Linked DNA regions of Homo sapiens: regions 1 and 2 are each linked to region 3. The links are contacts of gene promoters, found by promoter capture Hi-C in blood cells and fetal thymus (Javierre and others, 2016). All regions are on one chromosome and are shown on one strand. The core of a region is centred on a gene start or on the middle of the fragment in contact, and the rest is flanking DNA. Distances in the headings are between cores, read along the strand shown. Region 1 holds the start of STT3B (STT3 oligosaccharyltransferase complex catalytic subunit B). Region 2 holds the start of TGFBR2 (transforming growth factor beta receptor 2). Region 3 holds the start of NEK10 (NIMA related kinase 10).

Region 1 (4,380 bases), core at 699-3,198, 4.2 Mb after region 3:
TCCTCTGCTGTCATTTCAGCATGTACCGTTTGGGCTATGAGGAAAAGCATGTCATCTTTCTCTGTATAACAGAGGCAGTTAATATTTTATCCTAATTCTCATTAAAATGTGTACGTTCAATAAATGTCGGCTATTAAACTGTTGGTGAGAAAGTCTATTTCTGGAAACCTTTTCATTATTTCCTTAATAAGACTATTTATGGTTTTTTTAAGGAAACAAGACAAAACGTAACCACTTAGCAGGTTAAAAGGGTAGCTGGAGTTGCCTTACTTTCAAGGAGCTACCTCAAAATAACTAGGGTTCATTTATCTAATATTTTAAGACTTCTATTAATATTGAAACACAATTTGTAGTTAAAGAGAAAAATTTAAATCACCTAAGAAAATAATTCAGGGCCTTTATAGTTTTACATTAATATGCCCTTTAATATCCAGATGTTACTTACCTAATAAAATGTACAATTAGCTGTGAATTGACATGAACAAGTATTTACTGAGCACCGATTACGCCGAAAGCTCCGTACTTTCTATGGGGTTTATATAAGAGCAATTCGAGTCTCCCCACTACCTCACTTAGTTTAAGCTCATTTTGCCCTGAGTTTATCTGGTAGCACTTTATTTTAGCGGACAAGGAGGGAAGTGGGGAAAGGAAAGGAATTATAAAAATACAAGGTAGACGTGCACAAGAACCTTCGTTCTATTATTATTTAGTAAAGTGAGAACTGGAAACAGCTTAACGTCCAGGGTAAGTTAGTTTCACTCACTCGACGGAATGTATGCAGCCGTTAATGTATTTCTGCATTTTCCCATATTTCCAGTGAACATACAGTACTTTCGCAATTCGGAGTACAAACGAAAAAGGGCGAGAGAAGGTCGCATTTTGCCTGCCGGAGCTAGGGGCGCGCTTGCCGGTTCCAACGAGTTTTCGGTGTCGGAAAACTTGTCTTTGCTCACATTCTCGGATTCCCGCGGCCGCAGAAGCCGGAGGCGGGACGTGAAGGGCAATGAGCAAGGTAGGCTGTGTCACTGCCGCCGCGGGCTCACTCGCAGCGCCAGCCGAGGAGCGCCACGGGCTGCTGAACCCCTCGGCCCGACCCACGCGCCGAGGGCTAGGATAATGCGCCTGCGCGGCCGTCACGTGGTGAGGGCTCCGCGCAAAGCGGGTTAAAAGTCACGACCGCGGAGAGCCCGCGAGCGTCCTGCTGGTCGGTGCGGCGCTTTCCGCGTCCTTTAAGACGAGTTTGACCGAGGCCGCTCCGCAGTTCCCGCCCCTCGGCCCAGCTCAGCTCCATGAACCTAGCGGAGCCGCCTAGTACCCTTTCTCGCCGACCGCACAGGCGCGCGAAACCGCGTCTTTCAACTGACAATGAAGCCGTAGCCGCGCAGCTCGGCCACTCCGGGCGAATCGGCGCGAGGCCGGGATGGTGGGGGGGAGGGGGAGACGGTTGGGTCAAGCTCCGCCCCAGCTCGCGCCCCTATTGGTGGGCGCAGCGGTTCTGGGCCCGCCCCCTAACGGACCTGTCGCTTTGTGACAGGCGGAGGGGCCAGTTCCTGTCGGGCCGGAGGCGGAGTCAGAGGTTGCTTGAGCTCCGCCCGGACTCCAGGGGGCTCCTCCCCCTGCTCCTTTCGGCTGGGCGGGCGGCGGGCTAGAGAGGGAATGTCATTGCTTCTCAGAGCCGTGGTGCCGCCTCCGTCTGCTGCTTCTTTCCTGGCGCCCTCGTCCCGTCGGCTTTCGCCGCCGCCGCCGCAGCTGCACTGGGGATACGGATGGCTAGTGGGGCGCCGGGGCCATCTGGGTTGAGAGAGCGGCGATTGCGGCCGCTGCTGAGGCGGAGACTCCCCGCCGCCGCTTCCTCCACCCCCAGTCCGCCGGCCTCGCGGCGCTGAGGGCGGGAGCGCGCAGAGCTCTTCCCTCCTCCTTTTTCTTCCTCCTCCTCCTCCTCCTCCGGGTCCCCGCCCAGCACCCCTCGCACCAGGCGGCGGCGGCGGAGGAGGAGAGCTAGACCCGCCGCCGGGGCACAACATGGCGGAGCCCTCGGCCCCGGAGAGCAAGCACAAGTCGTCCCTCAACTCGTCCCCGTGGAGTGGCCTCATGGCCCTGGGAAACAGCCGGCACGGCCACCACGGGCCCGGGGCCCAGTGCGCGCACAAGGCGGCGGGCGGCGCGGCGCCGCCGAAGCCGGCCCCGGCGGGGCTGTCCGGGGGGCTGTCGCAGCCGGCTGGGTGGCAGTCGCTTCTCTCCTTCACCATCCTCTTCCTGGCCTGGCTTGCCGGCTTCAGCTCGCGCCTCTTCGCCGTCATCCGCTTCGAAAGCATCATCCACGAGTTCGACCCGTGGTAAGTGCCTCGCCGCCCCTCCCCCGCCCGTGGCCCGCGGGGAACCGGGACCCGCTCCTCCGCCCGCCGCAGCTCTCCTCGACTTGGCCCCGCGCCGCCGCGGAGCCCCGCTCGCGTCCTGGCTGAGGCCGGCGCGGATCCCGGAGCTCCGGGCGCGCCCCCTGCCCGTGGGCGAAGTTTGCCCCGTGCAGCCTGAGGCGGGGCGTCGGGGTCCAGGAGCGAAACCTTGATTCTCGGCCGGGCTAGTGTGAAGACTGCCAGGAGTGTGGATGCAGCCGCCGGGAGTGTGGGTGCAGCCGCCGGGAGTGTGGGTGCAGTCCCTCGCAGCCCGCTTTGGTCGCTGAGTCCGGACCCGCCACGCCAGGAGGCGGCAGGTAGCTCCTCCGCGGACTGTCGGTCGATTCCCCGCCCTCCTCGCCCGCTGCTTTCGCGTTCTTTCATATTTGCGGGCGCGTTTTTGCTAGTTCAGACGGAATCGGCCAGGGGGGCTGCCCTGTTGCCGCTGGAGGTGGGTCCAGATGTGCCGGAACCCCGGCTGCTCACCCTTGCAGTTTTACGCTTTTACTGTTTCTTTTTATGCTCTCATGATACGAGAAGGGAAAAGGAGAGTGAATGGCGTGTTGGAGGGAAGGAAATAATACCCCTGAAAGTGATCTGAAAGCTAGCTACTCTTATTTATTTATCATTAGGTATTTTAAAGAGTGGCTTTTTTTCAGAGCTCTTAAGTGCACTCAGCACCTTACTGTTTCACTATCGTCTTGGGTTGCTTTTTAGAACAAGATCCTTACCCTGTTAGCCACTGTCACCCTTAGTGTGTTATGCACAGTATCTGAAAGCATTGCATTAGTTCCTTTATTGGTCTGCAGGAAGGTTTGTGGATAAGAGCAAACAGTACCACGGTGATGGGAGTCCTAGATTGTAATACCGAAGTTGCACATGGTGTAAGGGACTGACCTGAATGTTTTAGGAAATTACCCCACTCTTAACAACACTAGCTAACTTAGACACTACATTGGTCTGTGAATTATCTAGATGGAAAGATTGCTTTAACTTTTTTTTCGCAACTTGCCCAACCCGAGTTAGGATTTTTCCCCCTGAGTTAGGATTTTCCCCTCTGAGAGTATGCCTTTTAAACTAGTGTTATCTTATTGACCTGTCAACCTTGAGTTAATCTTACTTCCTCACAGTTAGACCTAATTAAATTTCAGGATATTTGTTTCATCATTTGAGATTCAAAGAGAGAGAGTCTTTTTTGAGAGTTACTAACTATATAGATAATAAGTGTTCGGGTGGAGGGGGGCAGTAACTTACCTGTATAGTAATATACCAGATTTAAGTTCTGCATTATGGAGAGAAAAATTGGTACTGCAACATCTATTGAACACCAGAGGGGCCCACTCATGGACAATTCAATTTAGATCAGTTAATTACTGTGACAGTCTTCCATGAAATGTTTTCATTCCATTTTAGAAGTTTTGATTTTGTTTTCTAACACTAGTTTTTTTAAAAAATAACCTTTTTGTTAACGTGCAATCACAGAAGAAAATATGTTAGTGTAGACTATTTATGAGCCTAAGAATACCTGTGAAGGCTTATTGACACAATATTATTAGGTGGTCTTGTTTTGAAATACTTAAGCAAGTTAGATAAAAATGAAATTGGAACCAGAAAATGAAAACTAGTATTTACTGGACAATATGAAAAGAGAAAGTTCTCTTTTCAGATTAAAATAGCAGAAATGCATGGTTGACCAAACATTTCAGGTAACAAAATTGTGAATATTTCCATAGTAACATTTTTACAAATGGAAGGCTAACGACTGTTTAATAGTAACTCTGGGGCTGAAATTAAAGATTGCAGAAAAATTCACTACTGAATGATGAGATTTTGGTCATTTTTCCTTAAGATTAGAAATCTGCATCAAGTCAGCCAAAGATCCCCACTAAAATTGAGTAATGCAATAATGAAAAGGCTCAACAAGTAAAGTGGCTAATATTTTTATTTTTTATTTTTTATTTTTATTATTTTTTTTTTTTTAGTGTAG
Region 2 (4,382 bases), core at 1,210-3,709, 3.2 Mb after region 3:
TTTTGGAATCTATTGGACATTTATTTGCCACATTGTGTTTTCAGGAGAAAGAAAGTACATGTTTGCTATCTGGAGGAACTTGGGCAAATGTAGGAAAAAAAAAAGAAGAAGAAAGAAACCCACATACTTCTCCATTCTTAAGAAAAGGAAGTAGTGGTGACATCATTCTCGGCTAAAATGTAGTCTGTTTATATCTCAAATATTCGGTAACAATGTTTTCTCCAGAGTTATGAAGCAACTAGAACAATCAAATACAATTTTCTTCTAAATCTTTATTGCCTGATTCATTCATTCATCCAACAAATATTTATTAAACATCGATTATGTGTTTGATGCTTAGGGACACAATAGTAAGTGGAGGGAAAGATACATAATACCTGCCCTCAAGAAATTTGGAGTTGAGTGGAGGATAGAAATATAAATTAAAGAATGACACAAATAATTATAAAGTTACAGCTGTTAAAAGAAAAGCATATGGTGCCAAGAGAACGTGTAATACAAGATCTACTCATGGAGGTGAGGGAAAGCTTGCCCATCAAAGAAGTTATGATTCAATCCACGAAGACCAGGAGTTGGCTGGGTGAAGAAAAAAAGGTCAGAGGAAGGAAGTCCACACTGGGGAAGGCTCTAAGCATAAAGGGTAGGAGGATTACAGAGGCATATTCACGAAATTTGGAGAAGGCTTTCAGTAAGCAAGGAGAAGCCAAATGAAAGTTTACGGGAGAGTTGGAGGCTTGAAGACACGTTCAAGGATCTGGTTTTTATCTTCTCTTTATCTCAAGAGCAGTGGGAAGCCATTAAATGATTTTAATCAGAGGGTTGGTATAACTAGTTTTGTATTTTGAAAAGCTGAATTCAGCTCTCGTTTGAGAAACTGAGTGAAAGAGCCCAGAACGGCCGTGGCTGAGGGTGACTCGTGGGAGACTCCTACACAAGCCATGGCAGTGGCATGGGCTGGTGGCAGAAGAGGGAATAGGGAGAAGATTTGGAACTCAATCTTCCTCCATTGACAAAGTCACTCCAGCTTTGGCAAGGCAATTAATTGGTGGGAAAGAAGATGCCTAGCCCTCCTGATTTCACTGCACTTTCTGCATCTTCAACATGAGTACTGGGAAGTGGCAAAACATCCAGAGGCAGCTTGGGTGCTAGGTGGAGCATGAGTTAAAATTCCAGGATGAAGCAAATGAACACTTAGAATGACAGGAAAGATTTGGGAGTTGGGTTTGGGGGAGGGCTATTTACCTTTATTCCCTGGAGACCCTGGCACAAACCCTTGCCTCTGCAATCTTCCTCTCAGGTAAAGGAATTCATTAAATGAATTGCTAGAAGATCTACTGACCAGAGGGCTGTACAGAATCATATCTTTGAGAGTGGGAAGTAGGTTGATCACATAGTTTATTATCCAATCAGGACATATCTGAAAGAGAAAGGGGGTTCTATTAATATTTAAACTACAAAACATGTACACCAGGAATGTCTTGGGCAAATCTGGTTGCCCTAGCAAGAAAGGAAATTTGAAAGTTTATACTGTTCTGCTCCCATGTTACCCCGTTTGCACATGAGAGGGTAAGTATTCTCTTTCTTCACCTGCATTAAGGGAATAAAAGCACAAGCATTCAGGTGACTCCCAACCCACTTTTAATTTTACAGTTTCTGCTATACTCTATACATTCTGAAAATTACATTTCCCACCACTATCACTTCGTGATAGGTGATCATTTACAATTACTCACTGACTCAGTCCCGGGAAGAGGCGGTGCAAAATGGGACGCTCTATCCAGGTGCTCATTAGAAATGCAGAATCTCTGCCTGCCTCCTAGACCTACTGAATTAGAATCTGCATTTTTAAATAAGATTTCCAGGTGATCAATATGTACATTAAAACTTGAGAAAAACCTCTAGACTTCGACCTAAAGAAAAACATTTTACAACTTGACAGTGTATGCACATACATACATGCATATAGACACAACTGAAGCACAAATTTAATGAAGTAGAATTTACCGTTACTATTTTATTTGGGAAAGAAATGTGCTCGCGACTCAATAGATTGGAGTATTCACTCCTGGATCTCAACTTGCAATTTGAAAACGCATCTCTAAAGCACCTAGGAGCAATCTGAAGAAAGCTGAGGGGAGGCGGCAGATGTTCTGATCTACTAGGGAAAACGTGGACGTTTTCTGTTGTTACTTTGTGAACTGTGTGCACTTAGTCATTCTTGAGTAAATACTTGGAGCGAGGAACTCCTGAGTGGTGTGGGAGGGCGGTGAGGGGCAGCTGAAAGTCGGCCAAAGCTCTCGGAGGGGCTGGTCTAGGAAACATGATTGGCAGCTACGAGAGAGCTAGGGGCTGGACGTCGAGGAGAGGGAGAAGGCTCTCGGGCGGAGAGAGGTCCTGCCCAGCTGTTGGCGAGGAGTTTCCTGTTTCCCCCGCAGCGCTGAGTTGAAGTTGAGTGAGTCACTCGCGCGCACGGAGCGACGACACCCCCGCGCGTGCACCCGCTCGGGACAGGAGCCGGACTCCTGTGCAGCTTCCCTCGGCCGCCGGGGGCCTCCCCGCGCCTCGCCGGCCTCCAGGCCCCCTCCTGGCTGGCGAGCGGGCGCCACATCTGGCCCGCACATCTGCGCTGCCGGCCCGGCGCGGGGTCCGGAGAGGGCGCGGCGCGGAGGCGCAGCCAGGGGTCCGGGAAGGCGCCGTCCGCTGCGCTGGGGGCTCGGTCTATGACGAGCAGCGGGGTCTGCCATGGGTCGGGGGCTGCTCAGGGGCCTGTGGCCGCTGCACATCGTCCTGTGGACGCGTATCGCCAGCACGATCCCACCGCACGTTCAGAAGTCGGGTGAGTGGTCCCCAGCCCGGGCTCGGCGGGGCGCCGGGGGTCTTCCTGGGGTCCCCGCCTCTCCGCTGCGCTTGACAGTCGGGCCCGGCAACCCGGCCCCCGGGCGGAAACGAGGAAAGTTTCCCCCGCGACACTCACGCAGCCCGACTCCCGTAGCTGCAGGGATTGTGAGTTTTTCTTGAAAAAGAGAAGGAAAGTTCAGTTGCAAGGGGCGCGGGGCACGTTTGGTCCCCTTTGTGCGAGCAGGAAAGGCGTTGTGTTGGCCGCGTTCGAGGCGAGCCCCCACCCCCGGAAAGGGAAGTTTGAGAAGTTGGTTATCTGAAGGCGGCCGGGGAGCAGCGGCCCGGAGCGGCAGCCTGAGCTGCCAAAGCAGCCAGCGCACCTGGGCCACTCCGCCCATGGCGATGCCGCGTGCCCACCCAGCTCTTTCTGAGCCACCCGTTCAAAAGGCCAGCTCCTCAGTCCTTAGCTCCTGGAGACGGCCACGCTTTCCCTCAGGCCGGCTTCTTGGCCCGGAGTTTTTGGAAACAAGTTTCAAGAAAATAATCGATTTCCAAAAGAAAGTTAGCTGGCTCCACTGACGCCTTGGCATGGATGGATAGGGAGTGGAGATGCTCAGGTGAAACCGAGAATCCCTCACTGAATGCCTACTGGGTGCTAGAGGCTGTAGATTTTGCCTGGAACAAGATAGTCCTGTCTTCAGGGAGTTGATGGTTCTATGCAATTATCGTTTGTTGGAAACCGAAGGGTTAAAATCCTAACTAGGCTACCCACCTGATCGCTGTCTCTGAAGGTTTTTAAGGAAAAAATAAAAATAAAAAAATATATATATATATTATATATATATAAATATATATATAATTATATATATAAATATATATAATATTAATATATATATGCATGCAGGAATGGGGGTTCTTAACTATTTGTTATGGAAAGTGTAAAACCTCTGAGACTTCAAAAGTTAGATTTTTTTTTTTTGGAGACGGAGTCTCGCTCTGTCACCAGGCTGGAGTGCAGTGGCGCAATCTCGGCTCACTGCAACTTTGCCTCTGGGTTCAAGCGATTCTCCTGCCTTAGCCTCCCGAGTAGCTGGGATTACAGGCGCGTGCCACCACGCCCAGCTAATTTTTGTATTTTTAGTAGAGACGGGGTTTCACCATATTGGCCAGGGTGGTCTCGATCTCTTGACCTCGTGATCCGCCCACCTTGGCCTCCCAAAGTGCTGGGATTACAGGCGTGAGCCACCGCGCCCGGCCAAAAGTTAGACTTTTTGCAGCTATGATCCAAATAACAGTATCTGCAGCTGTGGTCTGGGTAACCGAGTATTTGGGCAAGTCATAGAGCTTTTTCTGGGCCTTAGTTTCCTCATCTGTAAAATGGCCAGCTTGAATCTGGGTAATTTTACATCATCTTCATGTTTAACATCTTACGTATCGTGCCCCTCCCCTCCTTTCCCCTGGCTCTTCTGGTGACTTGGAGATGACCCATGTAGACTTTGGATGAAATGTAGAGGAGTTGACAGTCCACATCACCCGGAGGCACT
Region 3 (3,950 bases), core at 521-3,020:
TTCAGTCAGTTAACAAGTATTTGTTGAACACCTGTTACGATGTCTTGCACTGGGCTAAATGCTGGATATATATAACAATAGTGACTGAGACAAAGATGGTCTCTGCCGTCACAGAGGCAGTCCAGAGAAAGAAACAGTAATCAAGCAACATACAGAAAATGATTGGGGAGTGAGAGCAGGAGTGTGGGGGTGCAAAAAGGAAAGTCCATTCCAGGCAGTGTGAGCAACAGGTGAGATAATTACACACAGGAGAGAATGTGACATATTCTGGGAACAATCAAGATGGAACTGCTGATAGAAGGCCTAACTAAAGATTGGATTAGGGTAATGGGGAATCATTGCAGGACTTTAAGTAGGGAAGGGAAATGCCCTTATGTGCGTTTTAAAAAGATCAGTTTAGCCGGGCACGGTGGCTCACGCCTGTAATTCCAGCACTTTGGGAGGCTGAGGCGGGTGGATCACCTGAGATCAGGAGTTCGAGACCAGCCTGACCAACATGGTGAAACCCCTTCTCTACTAAAAATACAAAAATTAGCCAGGCGTAGTGGCTCGCGCCTGTAATCCCAGCTCTCTGGAGGCTGAGGCATGAGAATTGGTTGAACCCGGAAGGCGGAGGCTGCAGTGAGCTGAGATCGCTCCACTGCACTCCAGCCTGGCAGCACAGCAAGACTCCTTCTAAAAAAGGAGTCTTTTTTAGAAGGACTCCATATATATATATATACACATATATATATATCAGTTCAACAATGGTGGGGAAAAAAGTGGATTGGATAGATAGGGCCAGACTAGAATCGGAGAAGCCAGATGGGTGTTGAATTTAACCAACCGATGGTGGAAATTGAGACAGTAAAAATAGAGATGGTAATGTGGGAATTGATTCAACACCTATTAAGAAGGGATAGTCTTGATAATTGATAGAGATGCAGAGGAAGCAGCAGTAAGTGTCATGGATGTCGTCTAGAGTGTAGTTTTTGAAAGCTGAATGGATAGTGATGCCCAAAATAGGGAATCCAAGAGCAGCAGCAGACATGGGGAAGATGGCGTTCAGGGTTGCACATGTGTGGCGTTAACTTGGCAGCTGGATTTTGGGGTCTGACAGTTAGTAGAGCAGGCTAGGTTCCAGTTGGAGACTTTCTAATCATCGTCAGATAGATGGTGCCTGAGGCGAGGAAGTGGAAGGGCTCACCGAAGTAGGGCAGAAAAGCAGAGGGGCAAAGTCAAAGCAGCATCCTGTAAGGAGAAGGCAGAAAAGCGACGCTCATAGAGATGAAGAATGAACCTCCAGAGGCGTCGGAGCAGATTGGAAGAGACACATTCAGGCTCCATTTAACCAGAATAATTCCGTTATCAAAATGGAAGCGCCAAGAAGCATCGTTGATGGCGCTTTCCCACCATCCATCCGTCCAACACAAACCCACCTGCTTTGAAAAGACTGCCTCACGCAGTGACTCACTTACCCACCACAGCCGCATTCTCTACCTCTGCCTCTTGTCTAGTGAAGCTGGCTCCCGAGGCTTCGGGGCCGCTCCACAGGGACCTGAGGACGTCTCCCCGGAGACCCTGACTCAAGCTGCTCGCCGGCACAGCCGAGCACCGGCTCCCGCCTACTCACCGCGCGGGAGGGACGGTCCCTCCTTCAGGCCAATCTCCTTATCATTGTCCCTGCTGCTGTCACCTGCTGCTGCAGACCGGGGGTCCCGTCCAGTCTCAGCCCGTCCCGTCCTCCCCCCAGCCTATTCCCGGTCCCCTCAACCTCAGGGACACCGCGGCCAGCTGCACCGTTGGTTTTCCAATCAAATCCTCCTCCAGGCCACCAACCAGCGCTGGCCAGGCCAATGCCGACAATTCTTCCTCCGCCACCTGGGGCGCCTCAGCCAATCGGGAGCAGCCATGCTGCGCAGTGCAGAACGCCATAGCGACGGATGACGCCTGCCGGGGAATCGCCGTAGCAACCAGAGACGCGCTAGATCCACCACCAAGCTTGCAAGCAGAAGAGGCAGCAAGTGATGCTGAAGGCTGTGCTGCAGCCACTTCACCGGAACCTAGAGCTACCTGTGAACAGGTCTCCTACACGTTGAAGATTTTTCTGGATTTAGGGTGTCTAACCTTTGATGGGAAAGGGCAGCTTCATCTTGGAGTGTTTACTTTCAAGAATTGCTATGGGCTAAAAATCAATTCTCTTTAAAAGCAAAGATTTAATCTGATAAGGAATCAATGCAGCATGCTAAATACCTTTCATATGGCATGAAAACGTCTTCAGTTACTCAAGCCACAGGCAATGAGAATAAGGTGCCACAGCACCGTATTTTTCACAAAAAGAGTGACCTGGGATTCAAGAAACCTGTATAGTATAACTATCGCCAGTTCGTTTTGTGGCTTTGGGCAAGTCACTTCACCTTTTGTGAAAGTCTGGAGCTTCTTTAAAATTTCTGAACTGCATTAGATAACGCTTTAAAAATATACCTGACATTCTGTAACTTTAAATAAATGAAAAATGCCAATCTATTAAGTGCTTAATTTTGTGCCGGGCACGATTTCAAATTCTTTCCTTATTTCACTTAGTTATAAAATGGAGGCACAAGAAGTTTCCTAAGTAGTCCAGTATGGCAGAGCTAGTGATGGAGTCAGGGTAAAACCTACTTCGAGTCTGGTCTTAACCACGATGATGCTCCTTCGACGATTTCTTCGAGTACTGGGCCCTGTTCAACCTCATCTTGGTATCACTAAACGCTCGTGTGTGTGTCTGGTGGTTACATCTTCCCAAACTGGATTTTAAATGAATACAGTGAACCCTAACGTTTTTCTGGTGTGGATAGTAAGTAGGCCCATTGGATTAACAATACTTAAGCTTGGGTAATTGAAAGCATTTTTTAAAATGAAGACGGTCCTATTTTGGAAATGCAGAAAGGCGAGATGAAAGCCAAACTCTGGTGAGTATAGCAGAACTAATTAAACTTCAGAGATCTAAAACAATCAGGATTAATGTTACCAATAAAACAAAACAAGGTGACGGGGCAGGAAGACCGATGCTGAGTAGAAAAAGTATTCTGTACATACATTCTAAATGTTAAGCAGTCGGCCTGGCTTGGTGGCTCACACCTGTAATCCTAGCACTTTGGGAGGCCGAGGCAGGAGGACCACTTGAGGTTAGGAGTTCGAGACCAGCCTGGCCATCATGGCCAAACCCTGTTTCTACTAAAAACAGAAAAATCAGCCGGGCATGGTGGCACATGCTAGTCCCTACTACTCAGGAGGCTGAGGCACAAGAATTACTTGAACCCAGGAAGCAGAGGTGCAGTGAGCCAAGATCATGCCACTGCACTCCAGCCTGAGAGACACAGCAAGACTCTATCTCAAAAAATAAACATTAAGCAGTGAGACATGACTGCACTGAACTTCTCATCTTCACCAGAATACCAATTGTGCTTCCCATCTTTCCACTACTCAGTAAAATTAAAGTCTTAAACTAATGTTTTGGCCATCCCAGAATATTCCTGAACTTCCCTGAAAGCTGCAGCGATTAAGAGGCAAGAATGACACTGCCTCTAAAAGACACATACACTATCATCTCAAATGTTAAGGGTCCCTCTGTAAAATGACACAAAATAAAATCCCACAAGAGATCTTGCACCAAGCTTATAGCTTATATAGCAAGGCTCAAAACTATGAAAACATATTTTTCTAAGGCCTTTTTTTAAATGAAATGCATAACGTAAATTATACAGTTCAAAAGTAAAACAGCATAATGTCCTAACTACAGCATAAAGGTAACAAATCTGCATGTAAGTAGATATTCAGGATCACCTCAACAAGAAGATAAAACCACTTCCCAAAATTTATAAATACTTTAGCCCAATGGTCTAGAACAAGAAAAGGCTATTCACACACACACACACACACACACACACACACAATCTAAGTGGAGGAATGAGAATGATCTTGTAGACTGA

The links. The method cuts DNA at HindIII sites, captures the fragments that hold promoters and counts their contacts. A CHiCAGO score of 5 or more calls a contact.
Region 1: the fragment with the promoter of STT3B here is called in contact with the fragment with the promoter of NEK10 in region 3 in 1 of 17 cell types (monocytes); the score reaches 5.3 in monocytes.
Region 2: a contact is called between the fragment with the promoter of TGFBR2 here and the fragment with the promoter of NEK10 in region 3, in 1 of 17 cell types (M0 macrophages). The highest score is 6.6, in M0 macrophages.

The regions. Positions count from the first base shown.
Region 1 is chr3:31,530,977-31,535,356 of GRCh38, forward strand. STT3B (STT3 oligosaccharyltransferase complex catalytic subunit B) reads left to right here and starts at 1,949. Exons shown (of 16, transcript NM_178862.3): 1 at 1,949-2,336. The coding sequence starts at 2,023. RefSeq lists silencers at 1,272-1,531, 1,842-2,071, 2,102-2,231, 2,312-2,461 and enhancers at 1,632-1,771, 2,622-2,681, 4,121-4,380. The HindIII fragment of the contact is 5,534 bases long and covers 1-4,380 here.
Region 2 is chr3:30,604,142-30,608,523 of GRCh38, forward strand. TGFBR2 (transforming growth factor beta receptor 2) reads left to right here and starts at 2,460. Exons shown (of 7, transcript NM_003242.6): 1 at 2,460-2,836. The coding sequence starts at 2,743. It overlaps LOC105377015 (translation initiation factor IF-2-like), which reads right to left and starts at 2,783. Exons shown (of 2, transcript XM_047449400.1): 1 at 2,005-2,783; 2 at 258-1,417. The coding sequence starts at 2,783. The coding sequence ends at 2,343. RefSeq lists a silencer at 2,534-2,633. The HindIII fragment of the contact is 4,009 bases long and covers 526-4,382 here.
Region 3 is chr3:27,367,613-27,371,562 of GRCh38, forward strand. NEK10 (NIMA related kinase 10) reads right to left here and starts at 1,771. Exons shown (of 36, transcript NM_001394966.1): 1 at 1,613-1,771. RefSeq lists an enhancer at 1,029-1,529. The HindIII fragment of the contact is 2,054 bases long and covers 1-1,978 here.